2 separate regions of the Homo sapiens genome follow, and region 1 is linked to region 2. The links are contacts of gene promoters, found by promoter capture Hi-C in human tissues and cell types (Jung and others, 2019). All regions are on one chromosome and are shown on one strand. Each heading gives the region's core, a stretch centred on a gene start or on the middle of the fragment in contact. The rest is flanking DNA. Distances are from core to core; before and after follow the strand shown.

Region 1 (4,390 bases), core at 914-3,413, 210 kb after region 2:
ACATGGTATGCATTGAGAACTGCAAAGAGCTCGCTATGACCAGGTGATCAGGAGCAAGACGAGTTCAAGAGAAACAGATGTTCTAGAGAGAAGTTAGTCAGAAAGGTAAAGCAGCTACCATGACCATTGTGTTGTGCCAAATGTTGTGGACACAAAGTGAATACCTGGCCTTTTGGTGCTGGCACCAGTTAGCACAATTTCATTTCATGCAACTATAAGAACAAGTTGTTAATCTTGGCCTTTGAGTATTTTTAATTGATAAATAATAATTGTAGGCCAGGCGTGGTGGCTCACACCTATAATCCCAGCACTTTGGACGGCCGAGACGGGCGAATCACTAGGTCAGGAGTTCGAGACCAGCCTGGCCAACACGGTGAAACCCCATCTCTACTAAAAATACAAAAAATTAGCTGGGCGTAGTGGCGGGCACCTGTAATCCCAGCTACTCAGGAGGCTGAGGCAGGAGAATTGCTTGAACCCAGGAGGTGGAGGCTGCAGTGAGACAAGATTGCACCACTGCACTCCAGCCCAGGTGACAGAGTGAGACTCCGTCTCAAAAAAAAAAAAAAAAAGACAAATAATAATTGTATATATTTATGGGACACAATGTGATGTTTCATTACATGTATACACTGGTGTAATCCAATCAGGCTAATTAATAGATCCATCACCTCAAACATTTATCATTTCTTTGTGGCGAGAACATTAAAAAACCCTCTTTTGGCTGGGCACTGTGGCTCACACCTGTAATCGTAGCACTTTGGGAGGTTGAGTTAGGAGGATTGCTTGAAGCCAGGAATTCAAGACAAGCCTGGGCAACAAAGTAAGATCCTGCCTCTACAAAAAATAAAAAAAATTATGGCTTCTTATAGTGGGAAATGAAAAAAATTAAAATAAAATATTAGCCAGGTGCAGTGGTGTGTGTCTGTAGTTCCAGCTATTCTGGAGGCTGAGGCAACAGGATCACTTGAGCCCAGGAGTTCAAGGCTACAGTGATCTATAATCATGCTATAGCACTCCAGCCCAGATGACAGAGCAAGACTCTGTCTCTTAAAAAAAAAAAAAAAAAAAAAAAAAAGGCCAAAAATCCTCTTTCAGCTATTTTGAAATATACATTAACTAGAGTCATCATGCTGTACAAGAGATCATAGAACTTATTCCTCTTAATTGAAATTTCCCCTCCCCCAACCACAGCCTCCAGTAATCACTATTATATCCTCTACTTCTATGAGCTCTACTTTTTTAGATCCCATGTAAATAATACAGTATTTGTCTCTCTGTGTCTGGCTTATTTCACTTAGCATAATGTCCGCTAGGTTCATCCATGTTATCATAACTGACAGAATTTCTTGCTTTTTAAAGGCTGAATAGTATTCCATTGTGTATATACACATTTACAAAAATCCATCCTTTGACAAGCATTTCTGTTGTTTTCATATCTTGGTTATTGTGAATAATCCTACAATGAAACACTGTAGGGCAGACATCTCTTTGACATACTGATTTCAATTCCTTTGGATATATATGCAGATATGGGATCATATGGTAATTCTACCTTTAGTTTTTTGAGGAACCTCCATACTGTTTTCCAAAGTTGCTGTACTAATTTATAGTATCACCAACAGTATGTTTCCTTTTCTAAGAAAGAAAATTTTAGTTTCCTATTGAGTGATCTATAATCAGGAATGTTCCAGATATTTACTTTTGCAATCAAAATAGGAATAAGGTTCAGGTTTTACTAAGATAGTTATGCAGATAATTGTGAGAAAATAAGGACCCACTTGATCCTATTCCTGAATTATCAACAATGCTATAGACACATGGAAGAAACCCTTGAGTGAATAGACCCTCTCATAAAGATCTCAATTTCCTTTTGAAAGACAATAACATAAATAAAAACTGCTGACTAAAGGAAGAAAAAACAGTAATGCCACTACTCAATGTATATATCTATCTTTATATACATACACATATATATCTATAGATATGTATCTACAAGGAACTTTCATATATTTTTTGATCCTCACAGCTGTCCTATGAGGTAGGCAGGTTTCAGGTATTCACACTAATGAGGTATTTTCCCCATAAACACTGAAGGATGCCAAGAAAAGTTTGCATTCAGATCTAGTTTCCATGTATTCAAAAAATGAATAAGAGTTTAAAAAGTTGTTTTACCAACTTTAGTTTCAGAATTGACATCAGGCATTTCTTATTTTAAAAGTCCACCCTTCAGAGAAGATAAGAAATTTCTGAAGTCCACCTTTGGAATCTTTTGGGATTCATTCTGACTAAGTAACATTTTTAGTTGAGAGAAGTGTTTCTTTGTTTTGCTGGTGTTCTTTGAGGAGCAAGTAGATACTGACTGTCCAGATGTAGGTGTTCTGAAAAGAAACAAAACCACACTTAGTTATACCAACAAATGACAATCATTTTCTACTCTTTTGTATTATGGCCATATACATGCACTGGCTATCCTCGGTGTATTATCATTTGACAAATCCCTGTTCAGTTAGATTTCCTCAGGAATTTCTGACAGAGAAAAGGGCAAGAACAAATGTTTAGGGCAAGAAAGTGTATTATGAATGGTTCAGTATTTTTTTTTTTGGAGACGGAGTCTCGCTCTGTCGCCCAGGCTGGAGTGCAGTGGCGCCATCTCAGCTCACTGCAACCTCTGCCTCCCAGGTTCAAGCAGTTCTCCCGCCTCAGCCTCCCAAATAGCTGGGACTACAGGCGCACGCCGCTACGCCTGGCTAATCTTTTGTATTTTAGTAGAGATGGGATTTCACCGTGTTGCACAGGCTGGTCTTGAACTCCTGAGCCGCCCACCTCAGCCTCCCAAAGTGCTGGGATTACAGGTGTGAGCCACCATGCCCGGCCGTGAATGGTTCAGTTTTGTTGGCACATAGGATGATTTAAGGCAAAGAAAGACAGGCAGACAGACTGGTGCCAGATAGGGCTGGAAAGCCATGCTAGAGCATTTATCCATATGCTACACAGTGATGCTTCTAATCAGAGCTATGCTCCAGAAAGATGATCACACTAAAAGAGTTTGATCCTAGAAGCAGGGAGACCCATGAGGAAAATCACTGCAGTAGTCCTGACAAATGGTGCATAAGGACCTGAACCAGAATATAGCAGCACTATGGAGAAAAAGGAGCAAAAAGATGAAAACAGGGAAGTAGGATATATAGAAATCGGTGACAAGGACCAAGGGAATAGGGATTTTTGAATGTACCTGTCATTTTAGGTCAAAATGTCCAGAAAGGTGTGTTCATTCACAGAATAAGGAACTCAGGAGGATGGACAGGTTTGAGTGGTTAGCTGTGGGGCAATGATGAACTAAGTTTTGAACATGTAGGGGACTGAAGTGGTTATATTTAGCAGGCAGCTGGAAATAGGCACAGGAGATGTTGGAAGTAGAGTAACATACCTAGAAGTCAAATGCATTGAAATGAGCATTGAAGATATGGGAGTATGTGACATTAGAAAAGGGTATGGAGGAAAAATGGCCAAGTCCTGAAATGCATGGCATATTTAGGGAGTATATATTAAACACAGGAAATTAGAAGAAAACACTTAACACTGGCAATTCAAAAACTTCATGGATTAAGATACCTGAAAACCGATGCTGGGCTCTTGCCTTTCGAGCCAGACATGTCATGATTTGGGTTTGCAGTCCTTCTCTCTGGTGTCTTCAGGCTGAGTTTACTTGTAGGAGTGGCAGGATTGCTCTTCAATGTTGACACAAAGCTTCTACTTTTACCATGATGTTTCACTGTTCTGTTGCATGTTTTACAAGTGATCAACTACCATAAAAATAAGAAATATCAGTCCCGTCATTTATCTTATAATTTAACCCCATAAACCACAGGTTCATTGAATTCTTAAATGTCAGGGACTACACCAGATACTATAGGGGTAAGTAAAATAGAGGCTGTCCTTGGGGAACTTGCAATCTAGTAGCGAGAATCAGACAAGACATTTTTTTTTTTTTGAGACGGAGTCTTGCTCTGTCCCCAGGCTGGAGTGCAGTGGCGTGATCTCAGCTCACTGCAACCTCTGCCTCCTGGGTTCAAGTGATCCTCCTGCCTCAGCCTCCCATGTAGCTGAGACCAGGCGCCTTCCACTGTGCCTGGCTAATTCTGTATTTTTAGTAGGCAGGGTTTCGCCATGTTGGCCAGCCTGGTCTTGAACTCCTGACCTCAGGCGATCCACCCGCCTCGGCCTCCCAAAATGCTGGGATTACAGGCTTGAGTCACTGTGCCCAGCCGACAAATTTTAAATGAGAAAATGTTCAATAAAAATGAATGGCTAAACATTTGTATTTAATTTAAAATAGGTTTTCAAAGATAATGAACTCTACTTTTTAAATATAAAACCATGTTTGGTG
Region 2 (4,243 bases), core at 908-3,407:
ATTCAATACTCTCCCTTCACAAAGGCAAGGAAGTTCCCATCCAAATCTTTAGGTAACACATTTCAGCACTTAAATCTTAAGCATTTAATTATTCTGAGCCACCACTTAACCAGAGTAATTCTCAAATTGGCAGAAAAACTTCATGAGGGGAGAGGAGGAACGAGGAAGAGGTGATGTTATTTTGGTTTGTTTTTTCCCGCCCTCTCTCTGTCTTGTTTCTAGGAGAAAAACAAGTGGACATGTTCCAAGACTCCCAGCAGTGGGAGGGGCGTCAGATTAGTGCACAAATGTCTGCTTTAACCGTAATGTAGAGGAAATACAAGGAACTTGCATTAAATAAAAGATGCCCACAACACTACCAGACATACAGTAAGTGGTAACGAGTTCTGAGGGCCAGCCTGGCTGACACATCCCAATTTTGCATTTGAGGGGAAAAGTACTGTTCTCTGAGGGACAAGAGTGAAACCAGGAGGGGACCAGAACATAGCTCTACTTTCCCAGGGTAGCATTGAGGGGAGAGGTTGGCCAATAGTGGGCGTGAGAGATCACAGCTGGAGGAGATTTAGGGGATTAAGGAGGTGCGGTGCTGATATAATTACTCAGGTAGCCTTGAAGAGTTGCTTCAAAGAATGGAGAGCCTCCCTCCCCAGCACCTGTAGGCATTCATAGTACCCCTCTATTTCTGAGTGGTAGGAAATTTCCATAATTAATAGTTGAGAGAGAGAGAGAGAGAGAGAATACGAAAGAAGGGTGAGGAGCTGTCTCCAGCAGGTGACCCTGCGAGAGGGAAGGATGAGGAGTGAATAGAGAGGTTGGCAGAAGGCACCCCCGTCTCCCTCCTGACTCTCCCTACTTAGGAAGCCAGAGGAGACACACAGGAGGAGGCCACAGTTCTCACAGCCCCCAAAGGGAAAACACAGTTACCCTCCACAACACCAGGAAGTGACCCGAAGCGCTGAAATCAGCTACCCGAGTAGTGAAACCTAAGTCATGGTTGCTGTTCTGCCCCCAGAAGGGGAGCAGTCACCAGTTGTTCATCGCGACAGAGCAGATACACTCAAACCCCGGTGCCCTGTGCCAAGACGTGCCCACTTCACCTGCACACCCTCCTTGACCATCCGGCACGCGGCCCTGGGGCTTGATGAAGCCCTGCACCCAAAGTCCCTGGCAGAGGGATGAGTCACGAACTTGGGCCCTGGCAGCAGAGGGCTGGGTCGGCCAAGGCCAGATGGAGCTTGATTTGCAATTTCATCAGCCTGTTCCGCTCTGAGGAAAGGCACGATGTGATCTTGGTGTTGTCTAATTCACAGGCTCGCCCTGTTCTTAAAGGTGAAATTGCACTGTTTGCTAATTCTTCTAGTCCCCCAGAGAACTGGAGCTCAGAGGGATTGTTCTGACGCTGTAAGAGTAAGGAAAATGAGGTTTCGAAAATCAAAGCTGAATACAGGCTATCCCAGAGGAGTCTGCAGAGCGCAGCCTCGGGAGGCCCCGGCCAAGAGGCCTTGGCCTCCCGGTCCCAACCTGGCGCGCCGTCAGAGGTGCTGTCCCAGCCCGGGCGCTGGCGGTCCACGCACCGCTCCTACCTCGGGAGGACATCCGAAGGGTCACGGCCGCTGGACATGCTGTCTTTTGCAACCCCGGCCCCAGCAGGCCCTTTACAGTGAGGGGTCTCCCGCAAGAGAGGGCAAGAACCATCCTAAGCCCCGCTCGCGGAGGGCGGGAAAAGGGGAAGACGGCTAGGTTGGTCCTGCCCACCGGAAAGTCGGAAGAGTAAGAGTAGCAAGAAGCCTTGGGGCTGCAGGTGGGACCTCAGGGAGCCGTGTCTACTAGGAGGACGCGTGGACACGTCCCTCCTGGAGTTTCGATTCAAAATGCGCCCGAATGAGGTAGCGCCGCTCTCACTAGGAGCAAAAGATCCGTCCACGTCGGTTCCAGAAACCTCGTGTCCCCCAAGCCTGCCCGCCCGCCTCACCTGCCAGGCGGCTGAACTCGCGCGCCCGCAGCTCGCGCAGGCTGCCCGGGCCGTAGCCGTAGGCTAGCCGCGGTGCGCTCGGGTCCCGGGAACCCGCGAAGGTCCACAGCTCCCGCCCTGACTCCGCCGCCGCGCCGGCCATGGCCCCGGCTAGTCCATCCAGGCCGGCCGGGCCCGGGAAGTGCGCGAAGCCGGCCCCCGGCGACTCCGCCCCCGCCACGCCTCCCAGGCCTCCAGCCTCCCAGTCTCTCGGAATCCGCAGCCTAGGTGTGGCGCCCCGACCGGACTTTCACTTCTGGCCAGCCCTTTCCCCACCTGGGCGCGGGAGCGGGTGCCAGTCTTTAAACAACCTCTCGATGGGTCCCACGAAGATGTTTCCAGACCCTTGGAATGCCAAGTTCAAGTTTAGCTATGTCTCGCGGAGAGGCCGGTGGAAGAAGCAACGAGGTGATCTTTCCTGCTTGGCATCGGCATCCTGGAACCCCGCGACCCTCCTCCTCGCAGGGGTCTCGGGACCCTCACCCTCTCAAGCGGGAACCGGCGTCTGGCGGGGGCGGGGGTGGGGGCGTTCTCGGGTTGCTGCTACCCAGCGGGGCGTGTGCTTGCCGTTTGTTAGAATGCGGCTGACCAAAGGGTAGAAAAGGGGAAAGATTAGGGATCCACGAGGCTAATAAATTCTCAGTGGCTGCACACTTTCGGAACCGGGAAGCTCGGGGGCTTCCCCCGGAGCGGGCCCTGCAGCTGGGATCCAAGTGAGCTGAGCTTCCCCGCCCTCCCAACCGCGTCCTGGGCCCTACTTCCTGCCCTTGCCTCCCCAACCCTGCATCCCGCCCCGCACTTCCCGCACGTGGGTGTGGCCGGGCCCTCTCTATTAAAGCAAGAGTGCCCTAGGACAAAGCCGCCCCTGTCCCGGACAGAGTGGAATAAGAGCGCCTCCTTCAATCCCCACTCGCGCCTGCACCCAGAGCACCTGGGACACAGCGGCTCTGTCTTGGAGAACAGGTGCCTCAATAGGGAGGGCCTGGCCAAACCTATGCGCGGGAAGTGCGGAGCGGGATGCAGGGGTGGGGCGGCAGGTGCAGGTAGTAGAGCCCAGGCATGCGGTTGGGGGGTGGGGGGAAATCTCACGTGCGATCCCAGGTGCGGAACCCGCTGCTGGGAATGGGGTGGAAGCAAAACAGGTACTGCACGCACAGGCGAGGTGCCTCGTGGGGGAATCGAATGTCAGGGATGGTGGACAGTGCGGATGGGCGGCAGGTGCTGGGGCTCAGGGGAGATAACTCAGAGGCAGGCTCGGTGGAGAACCCAAGGCCGGCGACCAGGTGCAGGCGGCCCACAGGCCCTGGAGGCATACAGCGGGGGGACAAGGTGGGAAGGAGGCCTATGCCCCAAGAGCTCAACCTGTGCTGCATCCAGGCCAGCTGCCACCCAGGGTATGGGCCGCAGATGCCCTAGGATCCTTGCTGATGCATGATGCATACCGGTGCCCAGCGTGAGAGCCATGGGAAGGCAGCACGCAGCCCTGGCTCTCCCGCCCAGGCCCCTGATACCAGGCCAGAGAAAGACCCGCCACTAAGAGCTCATTTCCCCCTGGCCGGAGACCCAGGGGTCTGTGGACTGCAGCGCTAGGGTCCATGCCCAGGTACCCATATTCCTCAGTGGCCTCTGCCCACTGACCACCCCCGCTCTCTCCCTCACTGCTGAATGTCCAGGACCTTACTCGACAAACACCCATAGTTGTTCGAGGAGGAGTTAATGTACTGATGGATGGATGCAGGCATTTGCTCATTGACATCACTGCCCACCCCACCATCTGCTTGCCTTCTGGCCATGCTTCAAGCAGGCACTTTGGATACTGGACTGTCTTCTGTGAATGTGGCTTTGGGCAGCACTAATAACAAGAGCTAGTTACAGGGCCTCACTGTGTGCCAGGCACTGCACTGTGTACACTCTTACCTGTCCTGGTCGTTCAATGATTAAATATGCAGATCTAGGAGGTGGCTCTTACAGATGGGGAAGCTGAGGCAGAGAGAGGCAGAATAACTTGCACACGGGCACACAGCTAGAAGACAAGCTAGCACCTGGGAAGTCAGTCTCCAGAGCCCAGGCAGGGAAGTGTGTTTTGCTAACTCTCTGGTGTGAGCCACCGTGGTTCCCAGGGCCTCAGTTTCCCCATCTAAGTTGAGAGGGGTGAGTTGGTCCTCCCAGCAGCTGTTCAGTGTGTCACTCCTCACCCATCCTTTTAAAGCCCTGCTTCCTGGTGAGAGTCTC

Evidence for each region. The method cuts DNA at HindIII sites, captures the fragments that hold promoters and counts their contacts. A contact is called where the count stands out against the background at its distance.
Region 1: a contact is called between a fragment that was not itself captured here and the fragment with the promoter of MOCOS in region 2, in 2 of the 25 tissues and cell types used here (heart left ventricle and mesenchymal stem cells).

The regions. Positions count from the first base shown.
Region 1 is chr18:35,976,826-35,981,215 of GRCh38, reverse strand. RMP24 (ribonuclease MRP subunit p24) reads right to left here. Exons shown (of 5, transcript NM_031446.5): 4 at 3,616-3,806; 5 at 1,938-2,381. The coding sequence ends at 2,210. Among named protein-coding and RNA genes, the nearest start is that of RMP24, 6.3 kb to the right of the region's middle. The HindIII fragment of the contact is 4,569 bases long and covers 1-4,390 here.
Region 2 is chr18:36,185,411-36,189,653 of GRCh38, reverse strand. It overlaps MOCOS (molybdenum cofactor sulfurase), which reads right to left and starts at 2,157. Exons shown (of 15, transcript NM_017947.4): 1 at 1,973-2,157. The coding sequence starts at 2,114. COSMOC (cell fate and sterol metabolism associated divergent transcript of MOCOS) reads left to right here and starts at 2,219. Exons shown (of 2, transcript NR_134605.1): 1 at 2,219-2,419. RefSeq lists silencers at 2,055-2,244, 2,090-2,353 and an enhancer at 3,113-3,935. The HindIII fragment of the contact is 25,317 bases long and covers 1-4,243 here.